Regions from separate parts of the Homo sapiens genome. Here all the other regions are linked to region 1. The links are contacts of gene promoters, found by promoter capture Hi-C in blood cells and fetal thymus (Javierre and others, 2016). All regions are on one chromosome and are shown on one strand. Each heading gives the region's core, a stretch centred on a gene start or on the middle of the fragment in contact. The rest is flanking DNA. Distances are from core to core; before and after follow the strand shown.

Evidence for each region. Contacts are between HindIII fragments. The CHiCAGO score rates a contact against its expected background, and 5 or more counts as called.
Region 2: a fragment that was not itself captured here is called in contact with the fragment with the promoter of SRCAP in region 1 in 1 of 17 cell types (erythroblasts); the score reaches 5.6 in erythroblasts.
Region 3: a contact is called between a fragment that was not itself captured here and the fragment with the promoter of SRCAP in region 1, in 2 of 17 cell types (erythroblasts and megakaryocytes). The highest score is 5.9, in erythroblasts.
Region 4: the fragment with the promoter of ZNF764 here is called in contact with the fragment with the promoter of SRCAP in region 1 in 4 of 17 cell types (fetal thymus, total B cells, monocytes and 1 more); the score reaches 6.1 in fetal thymus.

The regions. Positions count from the first base shown.
Region 1 is chr16:30,697,763-30,700,477 of GRCh38, reverse strand. It overlaps SRCAP (Snf2 related CREBBP activator protein), which reads right to left and starts at 1,307. Exons shown (of 34, transcript NM_006662.3): 1 at 1,236-1,307; 2 at 497-570. LOC730183 (a long non-coding RNA gene) reads left to right here and starts at 1,418. Exons shown (of 2, transcript NR_144637.2): 1 at 1,418-1,597; 2 at 2,547-2,715. RefSeq lists silencers at 1,287-1,516, 1,657-2,066 and enhancers at 1,236-1,530, 2,187-2,376, 2,407-2,496. The HindIII fragment of the contact is 7,629 bases long and covers 1-2,715 here.
Region 2 is chr16:30,937,728-30,940,442 of GRCh38, reverse strand. The region is part of intron 7 of FBXL19 (F-box and leucine rich repeat protein 19); the gene reads right to left. Among named protein-coding and RNA genes, the nearest start is that of ORAI3, 10 kb to the left of the region's middle. The HindIII fragment of the contact is 1,563 bases long and covers 562-2,124 here.
Region 3 is chr16:30,871,177-30,873,891 of GRCh38, reverse strand. It overlaps a transcript of BCL7C not described here. Among named protein-coding and RNA genes, the nearest start is that of MIR4519, 2.8 kb to the left of the region's middle. The HindIII fragment of the contact is 4,374 bases long and covers 1-2,715 here.
Region 4 is chr16:30,556,972-30,559,686 of GRCh38, reverse strand. It overlaps ZNF764 (zinc finger protein 764), which reads left to right and starts at 1,313. Exons shown (of 3, transcript NM_001172679.2): 1 at 1,313-1,700; 2 at 1,841-1,954. The coding sequence starts at 1,505. RefSeq lists enhancers at 1,184-1,323, 1,864-2,425. The HindIII fragment of the contact is 20,167 bases long and covers 1-2,715 here.

The DNA.
Region 1 (2,715 bases), core at 58-2,557:
GTATAAGATACTTTTAGTACCTGTTTGATGTGTTCTATAATCCTCACACCTACCTTAAAAACCAAGTGCTTTTCACAGCATAACAAATATTGACTTCCTCCTACACACAACGGATATAGCCATGCAGAAAGGATTCCCGACCTAAATGTAGCTTACATTCTAATATAATCTGTTTTGTAAGTTACGAAGTTAAGACCTTATGATTTGCGGAAGGTTACACAGTAAAAAAGTGATAGGAGGGCTTCAATCCACAGTCTGATGCCAAAACCAAGGAAAACCTGCTACTCTTCCTGGTAGAGCCAGGTTGACCACGTTTTCCTCAACCCACAGCCTCAGTTCTGTTGTTGTACTATAATCAAACCCTCTACAGAAAAATCACATGCAAACATTCCCATGCTTCTCTAGAGTGAAAATCCCCAATACGGACCTATAATTGCTTTATCTCAAACATTTCTCCCATTAGCATCAGCACACAAAATGGTAGCAGATCCCTCACCTGTGTGAGCTGAGACCACACCCCCTGTGAAAGTCTGCACTTCCACGGTGCCGCCGTACTGAAGGGAATCACACCTGAAACATCCATCAAAGCGTATTATTTACTCCAGTTTTTTGAGACGTTTAAATATACCCAAATCAGTTAAAAGACTAGAAACAGAAAAACTACAGTAGTAGGAAAATCTCACATTTCAGGGAAATGCAAATCATGTTTTGTGAATTCCGGAGGGACATACGATCCTGCCTGGGGGCAGGAGCAGGAAAGGAGTGAAGAAAGAAAGTTCAAAAATTTTAAGTGTAAAGGCTCCAACCACAGAATGGAAGACAAAAAAAAAATACAGCAAAAAAAAGCTGTCACATCCAGAACCTCAGAAAGGTGCTACCTGCCTGCGGGCCTTTCCAGTGAGGGCTGAACGCAGAAGTGAGAGTGGAACTCCCGGGAAGAGTCAACAAACAGGCTGGTCACAGGAAAATCCGCCCAGGATTCAGGGCAGGGCGCTGTATATCCCATACCTGCGCCTTGAGACACTTCCCCAAATACAAGAACCACAGCAAAAGGAGACTCAGGAGCAGTCAAAAGCGAGAGGCCGCACTGCCAAGAACCACGCGCCGGAAACAGGCAGTGTGAACCCGCAGGAGGCCCGGAAATGCTTCCCCAGTGTTTAAGGAAATTCCTAAACCACAGTGCCGGCTTTGATTCACTCCCTACTCCGCCACACGTTCCCAAGACCCGAGCTCACCAGAAGCCAACAAGCCTTAACTCTTGACTTCAGGTTTCGTGACCATCTCCCTAGCCCTCCCGACGGACTGACCTCGCGTGACCCCTGACCTCTGCCCAAGTTGCCACTAGCCCTGAGATAGCCCCGCCCCCTCCAGACTCCCACCCCACCCAACGTGCGCGCCGGGCGGGGGAGGGGCCCGCGCGTGCGCGGCTGGAGGCGGAGCGAGCCGGCTGCGCGCACGGCCCAGGGGCTCCCGCCAGAACCCGAGCCCACGCACACAAGGGTCGCGGGGCTGGGAAGCTCGTCATCCAAGCCCGTCAGGGAGCCCCCCCATCACCCGACCGCGAAAGGCTGAGAGAAGGGAGGGTTCGTGCCACCAGGTCCTGGTCCCCCGGCTAGATGTGGTGGGCGCGCGCCCCGACTACTCGTCCCACGCCCCCCTTCCTCTTCCCGCGCGCCCCTGAGGGGTGACTGGGTTGGTGGGCGGGCAGGAGCGCACCTGGGTCCGTCCTCTCAGGGCTCGCTCGCTCGCTCGCTCGCTCAGGCACGCGTGCGCAGAAGGGCGGGAAGGGAGAGGAGACACGCCGGGGCCCAGCGCCGGCCGGCCTGACCCCCTCAGTCTGTCTCTATGGGCGCGCGCCGACAGCCTCGCGCACCGGCCCCGGGGCCCCGGCTGAGGGTGCGCGCGCAGCACCCCGGGAAGGTGGGGGGGAGGCGGTGGCGGAAAGATGCGCGCGCAGTCAGCCGTCATGGGAGGGGGAACTGTGGGGCGTTCGCCATCTTGTCTCCCTCTCCTTACCTGCGTCCTCGGGGGCGTGCGCACCACCCCCCCTCCCGCCTAGGAGGGGGGAGGGCCCCCTCTTGGCCACCGCCTTCGCGGCCTTTAAACTCCCCTGGAGACTGCGGCTACTGCCACCGCCTTGCCTCCACTGCCTCTTCGCGCAGCACACAGATGCGGACGGTGGGTGGGAAAAAGGGCAGACGCTACTCCCAGCGAACCGCCGCTGCCGCTCCCGAGGCCTCACCAAAATGGCCGCCGCCGTCTCGGCCGCCACCACCACCACTACCACCACCACTCGCTCGGAATCGCTATCGCCGGCGCGGCCCGTCTTCTCGCGAGAGACAGTAACTGGAGGGTGGGGGAACGGGGAGGCTCGCGTGCTAGCGTAGGGTGCAGCACGGTGCGCAAGGCAGCCTGGGAGGTGTAGTCTCCCAGAGGCTGCGCGCTCGCCCTTCCTCGGAGCGCCTTTACCGTTTGCCCCTAGATCTACCTGGGGCTGCATTGCGGCTGCCAGCTCGGACCACCGCCACCTCCCTTTTTATTTACAGATCACCCAGTAAGCTGCAGCAAGTTAGCAGTGGAACCTGGGCCTCCCGATTCCCATGGCAGCCCACTTCTGTAGCGCTGCTTCGTTTTACGCGAGGATGGTTTCCTGATAGCTTTCAAACACCTTTGCCATCTCTTCGCAAACTTTCTAGATTAAGAATCCCTTTGAGA
Region 2 (2,715 bases), core at 94-2,593, 240 kb before region 1:
GGAAGCTTTTTTTTTTTTTTCTTGAGACAGTGTCTTGCTTAGTCACCCAGGCTGGGGTGCAGTACTGCGATCACAGCTCACTGCAACCTTAAACTCCTGGGCTCAAGCCATCCTCCTACCTCAGCCTCCTGAGTAGCTGGGACTACAGGCACATGCCACCACACCTGACTTTTTTTTTTTTTTTGAGACAGAGTTTCGCTCTTGTTGCCCAGGCTGGAGTGCAATGGTGTGATCTTGGCTCACTGAAACCACCATCTCCCAAGTTCAAGCGATTCTCCCGCCTCAGCCTCCAGAGTAGCTGGGATTACAGGCATGCGCCACCACGCCCGGCTAATTTTTTGTATTTTTAGTAGAGATAGGGTTTCTCCATGTTGGCCAGGCTGGTCTCGAAATCCTGACCTCAGGTGATCTGCCCACTTTGGCCTCCCATAGTGCTGGGATTACAGGCGTGAGCCACTGTGCCTGGCCTATTTTTTTATTTTTAGTAGAGACAAGGTTGTCCAGGCTGGTTTTGAACTCCTGAGCTCAAGCGATCCTTCCCTTGGCCTCCCAAGGGAAGCTTTCTCTTGCCTCCCTCCCTGCCCTCATGACTCTGAAAGGCTTTTCCTTGTAGAAGCCCTGGGCTGGGGCAGTGATTCCCAAGCTCCAGTATTTGCTGTTCACTTATCTGCGTAACATGATTTATCTTTGAATCATCTCCTCTTTGCACTTAAAACCAGTATTGTTGCCGGGCGCGGTGGCTCATGCGTGTAATCCCAGCACTTTGGGAGGCCGAGGTGGGTGGATCACTAGGTCAGGAGATCAAGACCATCCAGGCTAACACAGTGAAACCCCGTCTCTACTAAAAAAAAAATACAAAAAATTAGCTGGGCGTGGTGGAGGGCGCCTGTAGTCCCAGATACTCGGGAGGCTGAGGCAGGAGAATGGCGTGAATCTGGGAGGTGGAGCTTGCAGTGAGCCGAGATCGTGCCACTGCACTCCAGCCTGGGCGACAGAGCGAGACTCCGTCTCAAAAAAAAAACAAAAAAAAAAACCCCAGTATTGTTTCACATAAATATGTTAATCTTAAAAATAAACACAAAAGTCCAAGTGTGGTGTAATCCCAGCACTTTGGGAGGCCAAGGTGGACAGATCACGAGGTCAGGAGATTGAGACCATCCTGGCTAACACGGTGAAACCCCATCTCTACTAAAAATACAAAAAATTAGCCGGGCGTGGTGGCGGGCACCTGTAGTCCCAGCTACTTGGGAGGCTAAGGCAGGAGAATGGCATGAACCTGGGAGGCGGAGCTTGCAGTAAGCCGAGATTGCGCCACTGCACTCCAGCCTGGGTGACAGAGCGAGACTCTGTCTCAAAAATAAATAAATAAATAAATAAAACACAAAAAAGACCAGAGTTATTAAATCCTAGCCAGGTGTTGCTGTGGCTTTAGGCTACTACCTGAAGACTACTTTTGTTAAACAGGGAGATAAGTATCAGAGAAGTGTTAGAAAAAGCACCCAATAGTGGCCAGGCGCAGTGGCTCACGCCTGTAATCCCAGCACTTTGGGAGGCCGAGGCAGGCGGATCACGAGATCAGGAGATGGAGACCATCCTGGCTAATACGGTGAAACCTCGTATCTGCTAAAAATACAAAAGATTAGCCGGGCGTGGTGGCAGGCGCCTGTAGTCCCAGCTACTCAGGAGGCTGAGGCAGGAGAATGGCGTGAACCCAGGAGGCGGAGCTGGCAGTGAGCCGAGACTGCACCACTGCACTCCAGCCTGGGCGACAGAGCAAGACTCCATCTCAAAAAAGAAAAAAAGCACCCGATGGAGAGACTTCCTTCCAATGGAAAGACTTCCTTTCCAAAACTCACAGAGGGATTAAGCCATATTTTTGTGTCACTGAAAAATGCCAGACCTACTCCAGAGGCCCAGTGTGTCATTTCATTATTTTTTTCAGACAAAGTCTCACTGTCGCCCAGGCTAGAGCTCAGTGATGCAATCATAGCTCACTGCAGCCTCAAACTCCTGGGCTCAAGTGATCCCCTTGCCTCAGCCTCCCATGTGGCTGGGACCACAGGTATGCTTAGCTAATTTTTTCTTTTTTAATAGAGATGGGGGTCTCACTATGTTGCCCAAGCTTGTCTTGAACCCCTGGGCTCAAGCAATTCTCCTGCCTCAGCCTCCCAAAGTGCTGGGATTACAGGCGTGAGCCACTGGGCCCAGCCCTGGTGTGACGTTTTAGAGAAGGCTGAGGGCACAGACACCAAGGCTTCAGTCCGAACACCTTCACCCCTCTGCCACTCGCTCTCCTGTTCCCTCCTACCCTCATCCTGCTTTTCTGGCATTCTAGCCTCTCCCTCTCCTGATTCCTTCCTCTCAACTAATAAACATCTGCAAATCTCTCCAATTCAAAACATGAAAAGGAAAAAAACCAACTCATGCCCGACCCAGCTTCTACCCCTAGGTCCTGCCCCTTTGCTCTTTCTGTGAGCAAGAAAATCGGTGACATCTGCTCTATCCAAAACCTCTCTCTGCCCACTGTGACCCTGCCACGACTGCCTCCCAGCTTAACTGTCACCACTTCCTTGAAGCCACTTCCCTTCCACGGTCCACAGCTGGAAGGAAGCCCCTTTCCCTGGGGGCACCCACAGGACCCCAGTTGTGTTTCTGTATCATACTCCACAACAGCCAGGCCACACACCTGCCCACCTATAGACACAGTGCTGTCTG
Region 3 (2,715 bases), core at 110-2,609, 170 kb before region 1:
TGTGTGTGTGTGTATATATATCTGTACAATTTTTTTTTTTTTTGAGACAGTGTAGCTCTGTGGCCCAGGATGGAGTGCAGGGACTCGATCTCGGCTCACTGCAACCTCCGCCTCCCAGGTTCAAGCGATTCTCCTGCCTCAGCCTCCCGAGTAGCTGGGATTACAGGCTGCTGCTACCATGCCTGGGTAATTTTTGTATTTTTAGTAGAGACAGGGTTTTGCTATGTTGCCCAGGCTGGTCTGGAACTCCTGAGCTCAAAAGTGATCTGCCTGCCCCAGCCTCCCCAAATGCTGGGATTACAGGTCTGAGCCATCACACCCGGCCCATATATACGTATTTTAAAATAACACCTTTACTGAGAGAGATGACTCACACACCATACAACTCACCCATTTAAAGTGTACAGTTCAATGATTCTTAGTATCTTCACAGTTTTGCAAATATCACCACAGTCAATTTTAGAACATTTTCATTACCCCTAAAAGAAACCATACCCATTAACAGTAACTCCCAAGCCTTCCTCCCACTACAGCTCTAGACTACTGCAAATCTACTTTCTGTCTCTATAGAGTTGATTATTTTGGACATTTCATATTAGGGCTTTATGTGGCCTTTTTTGACTGAGATAACCTTTTTGTTGTTGTTTTTAACAAAATCAACTCCTTGAGCTCAGAGCCCTGGCCTATAATCATAGCCAGCTAGAACTGAACAGCATTGTTTTGGTTTTATTGTATCTATTTTTACCACTCTTGGGTACATGATAATTTCTCATTTATGGCAGTGGTTAAAGTTTCCTTTTGAATACACCTAGTTCCATCAAAACGTGAGTTGATAATTTTTAAAGAACAAGATTAAGTAAACAGAAGTAGAGGTGGTCCACAAATTTGTCAGAGGTTGGGAAGATGGGATGTGAATGAAGTTTGGCAAACACTGGATTGTCTGATTTACGGTTCTCCAGGTCATCATTTGAAAACCACCCTCACCTTATTCTTTCATTGCATTTTCCTGACAACTCCTGTAAAGAAGTGCATGATTTTACCGATGAAGAAACAGGTTCAGAGAAGTCAGGTACAATTACTTGTCCAGTGTCACACAGCTAGTGACAGAAGCTAGGCTTAACCAAGTCTGTCTGATTGCCAAAACTACCTACTTACCAAGTCTGGAAGTAGGATAGGGGGTGGGGAATGGACTAGCAGGCTTGAGAGGGGACTCTGGCCACTACCCAAAACATGCGGGCACCAGGCTGCCTGAGTTGTTTTGGGTACCTCTTCTAACAAATATTCAAATATTTCTATGAAACAATTTATGACTCTAAACAGAAATCCCATCTCATTTGCCACTGGGGCTTTCACCCTCTCTCAACGGCACACCGCAGTTCAGGAAGTGCTGCCTGCCTGGAGAATGAGGGTGTGTGTGAACGTGCGTGCTGGTGGTGAGGAGAGTCTGATCTCTAGTTCATCTTGGTTGCTACTGGCATCACTTTCCAAGCCCACAGGGGTCCCTTACACTCCATGACTTCTGCCCTATTCCACCTGTGGGCACCAGAGTCTCTAGGCTGGCTGGGATTACCTGCATATAGGGTCCCATGTTTCTGGAATGTCAGGCCGCCACCTGCTCTCAGGACTGACCACTTTCCTGGAGCACAGCCGCAGGGTATTCACCATGACTCCCTCTCTCCCCTTCCTGGCCAAGGACTTTCCCACCTCTTGCCATCATCTTCATCAGAACTCTGCCTCCTCCCTCAGACCCTATTCCTCATCTTATTCTTTCCCTGTGGGCTTTAACTGACCATTAAATTCAGAACCCATTCCAATAACACGAATATCCTTTTCCAGAGAGAGCTTAATTTTATACCTTAATTTTTGAAATTATAGCATATAGAAGATAAGCAAAACAACCAGGTCCTGCCATGCTCTTGTTCAACACCGATTTAACTCAGTCCACCTCTCTCACAGCTGTGCAATTCAACTTGACCCAAACTTGAGGCTAAGCACCTCCAGACAGGATGATTAGGGTCCATCTGGTCTCACTCAACTTAGGTGAGAATCTCAACCCTAAATCCAAGCAATTATCTGAGTAATTCTGGACCCTATAAAACAAAATAGTGGCCGGGTGCGATGGCTCACACCTGTAATCCCAGCACTTTGGGAGGCCAAGGTAGGCAGATCACCTGAGGTCAGGAGTTCAAGACCAGCCTGGCCAACATGGTGAAACCCTGTCTCTACTAAAAATGCAAAAATAAGCCAGGTGTGGTGGTGCCTGCCTGTAGTCCCAGCTACTCAGGAGGCTGAGGCAGGAGAATCACTGGAACCCGGGAGGTGAAGGTTGCAGTGAGCCAAGATCGTACCACTGCACTCCAGCCTGGGCGACAGAGTGAGACTCAGTCTCAAAAAAAAAAGCTAACATTGAGCTAGGTGAATATTCTCAGAGCACTACATGCATAATCTTACAAAATCATTTCAATAACTTAGTGAGGTAAGTACTCTTATTATTTCCACTTGACAGATGAGAAAAGCAAGGCACAGAGAAGTGAAGTCACTTGTCCCATAGTATATAATAGAGGCAGATCTGAATCCGTATCATCTGACTTCAGAGTGTGTACCCTCAAACACAGAGTTCAGATGAGGCTAACTCCAGCCATCGTTTACAGCAGCATTTCAGTGTTCCCTATACGCTGTCCCCCTCCTAAGTCAGTTTCTAGCTACTTGGGAAGC
Region 4 (2,715 bases), core at 64-2,563, 140 kb after region 1:
ACCCCCTTAGAGTTGTGAGCCCTTAAAAGGGACAGGGATTGCTCACTCGGGGAGTCGGTTTTTGAGATGTGAGTCTTGCCGATGCTCCCAGCCGAATAAAACCCTTCCTTCAACTCGGTGTCTGAGGGGTTTTGTCTGTGGCTTGTCCTGCTACAACAGGACATGTATGAAGTCACGTGGAGCACAGAATAGACCATCAGAAAGTGAGAGAGAGGTCTGGGGGAGAGTTGGTGACATTTACTAGATAAAGACCCTAGGGGAAGCAGATTGGGGCAAGAAAGGGATGAGTTGGATTTGAGTAGAGGAGCCTTGGGCCATCTGTCCAGGGGCAGGATGTGAGGGGAGGTGAGAGCCCGGCTGCAGCTACAGGGAGACTGGCAATTGGGAGGCGTCCTGAGCAGCACATGGGAGAAGCTCCTAGAAGAGAGGACCCTCTGACTTTCTCAACCTTACCCTACTCTCCCCACTGCCTCCGCCATCTAGAAACTTCCAGAATTTCAGGCCCCAACAAGCCTACGATGGAGGAGGTTCTCCTGTATCCACTCCTTTTTCTTTCTTTCTTTCTTTTTTATTTTTGAGACAGAGTTTCGCTCTGTCGCCCAGGCTGGAGTGCGGTGAGGCAATCTCGGCTCACTGCAAACTCCGCCTCGCGCGTTCAAGCGATACTCCTGCCTCAGCCTCCCCAGTAGCTGGGATTACAGGTGCACGCCACCACACCTGGCTGTTTTTTTGTGTGTTTTTAGTGGAGACGGGGTTTCACCATGTTGGTGAGGCTGGTCTCGAACTTCTGACCTCAGTTGTTCCGCTGGCCTCGGCCTCCCAAACTGCTGATTACAAGCGTGAGCCACTGCGCCACGCCCACTCCATTGGTTTTTTTACACTCAACATTGGGAAGAGACTGCTGTTGCCCTGTTTCTGAGATAACAAGGACAAAACGAGAGAGTGATGAGCTGGAGCCCGATTATAAAACGGTCCACAAACGAAAACTAATGCCTGAGTTCAGTAAGGCCGGGAGGCCAGCTCACTCCCGCGAGGCGCTCTTTTGTTCGTGCAAACCGGGGCGGAGCTCTCTGCTGCACCGCCTCGCCGGGCCGGGGCGGAGCTCTCTGCTGCACCGCCTCGCCGGGCCGGGGACTAAACATGCGCGGCTAGTTTTCAAGGCCGGCCTCTGTATTAGTCACCGCGGCCATTTTGGATGAGGGTACGGAGAGAACGCGGACTGGAGATACCGGGGGCGTTGTCTTGGGCACGACTGCGTAGGGGCAAAGGTCGAGTACCCGCGCCGCCGCCATTTTTTATGAGGGCATATTCCATTTCTGATTATACACCCGCTGCCATCGGCACCGTTAGTTTCCACGCCCTCTAGTGCGCCCTCGGGGGCCCTAGTAACCTCCCTCCTTCCCTTGGGCCCGGGCCGGGGAGGCTTTCTCGGGCGCAGGAGGTTCCGCAGGCCCAGGCCAGGCCAGGGGAGGCAGCCGATCCGTCGTCGGGGTTGACAGTTACCATGGCGCCGCCTCTGGCCCCGCTCCCTCCCCGGGACCCAAACGGGGCCGGACCCGAGTGGAGGGAGCCGGGGGCTGTGAGCTTCGCGGACGTGGCCGTGTACTTCTGCCGGGAGGAGTGGGGCTGCTTGCGGCCAGCGCAGAGGGCCCTGTACCGGGACGTGATGCGGGAGACCTACGGCCACCTGAGCGCTCTCGGTGAGAGCCCCACCTGCTCGCCTGAGCCCTGCGCCCCCACAGGCCCTGCCGCGCCTCTGGGAGCTGCGCGTGAAGTTGGGGGCCCCGGGGCCGGGCAGGTGGCCTCCCCGCAGCGTGGGGTTTGCGTTCTTCTTCCCTAGGAATCGGAGGCAACAAGCCAGCTCTCATCTCCTGGGTGGAGGAGGAGGCCGAACTGTGGGGTCCGGCTGCCCAGGATCCGGAGGTGGCGAAATGTCAGACACAAACGGACCCAGGTGGAGTATCGGGTGCTCAGTCCCATGGGGACTTCTCTGTTCCTGTCCCATCCCGGTACCCTCTGCCACCTCCAGCTACCTGCTTAGCAGTTTCCTCTCTGAACTGCCTTCTCAACTGCGACGACGAGGCTGAGCCCCTGCGTGGCTCCCAGATGCAGCCTAGAAAGGAGCTGTGATGGGGGCTCTGGCCCTGCCATACCCGCCTCTGAGTCCTCACCTCTGCGTGGTCACTACACTCTGGGGGCTTTTTTTGGTGTTTTTGTTTTAGAGACAGGGTCTCGCTTTGTTGTCTAGGCTGAGTGCAGTGGCGGCATCATAGCTCACTGTAGCCTGGAACTCCCGGGCTTAAGCAGTCCTTCCACCTGGGCCTCCAGAGTAGCTAAGACTGTACAGGTGCTCGCCACGAAGCCTGGGTAATTTTTTTTTTTAGACAGAGTTTTACTCCGTTGCCCAGGCTGGAGTGCAGTGGTGCCATCTCAGTTCACTGCAACCTCCCACTCCCAGGTTCAAGTAATTCTCCTGTATCAACCTCCCAAGTAGCTGGGATTACAGGCGCCCGCCACCAAGCCTGCTTAATTTTTTTTTTTTTTTTTGAGACAGAGTCTTCCTCTGTCGCGCAGGCTGGAGTGCAGTGGCGCCATCTCGGCTCAGTGCAAGCTCCGCCTCCCTGGTTGACGCCATTCTCCCGCCTCAGCCTCCCCAGTAGCTGGGACTACAGGCGCCCGCCACCACGCCCGGCTAATTTTGTTTTTGTGTTTTTA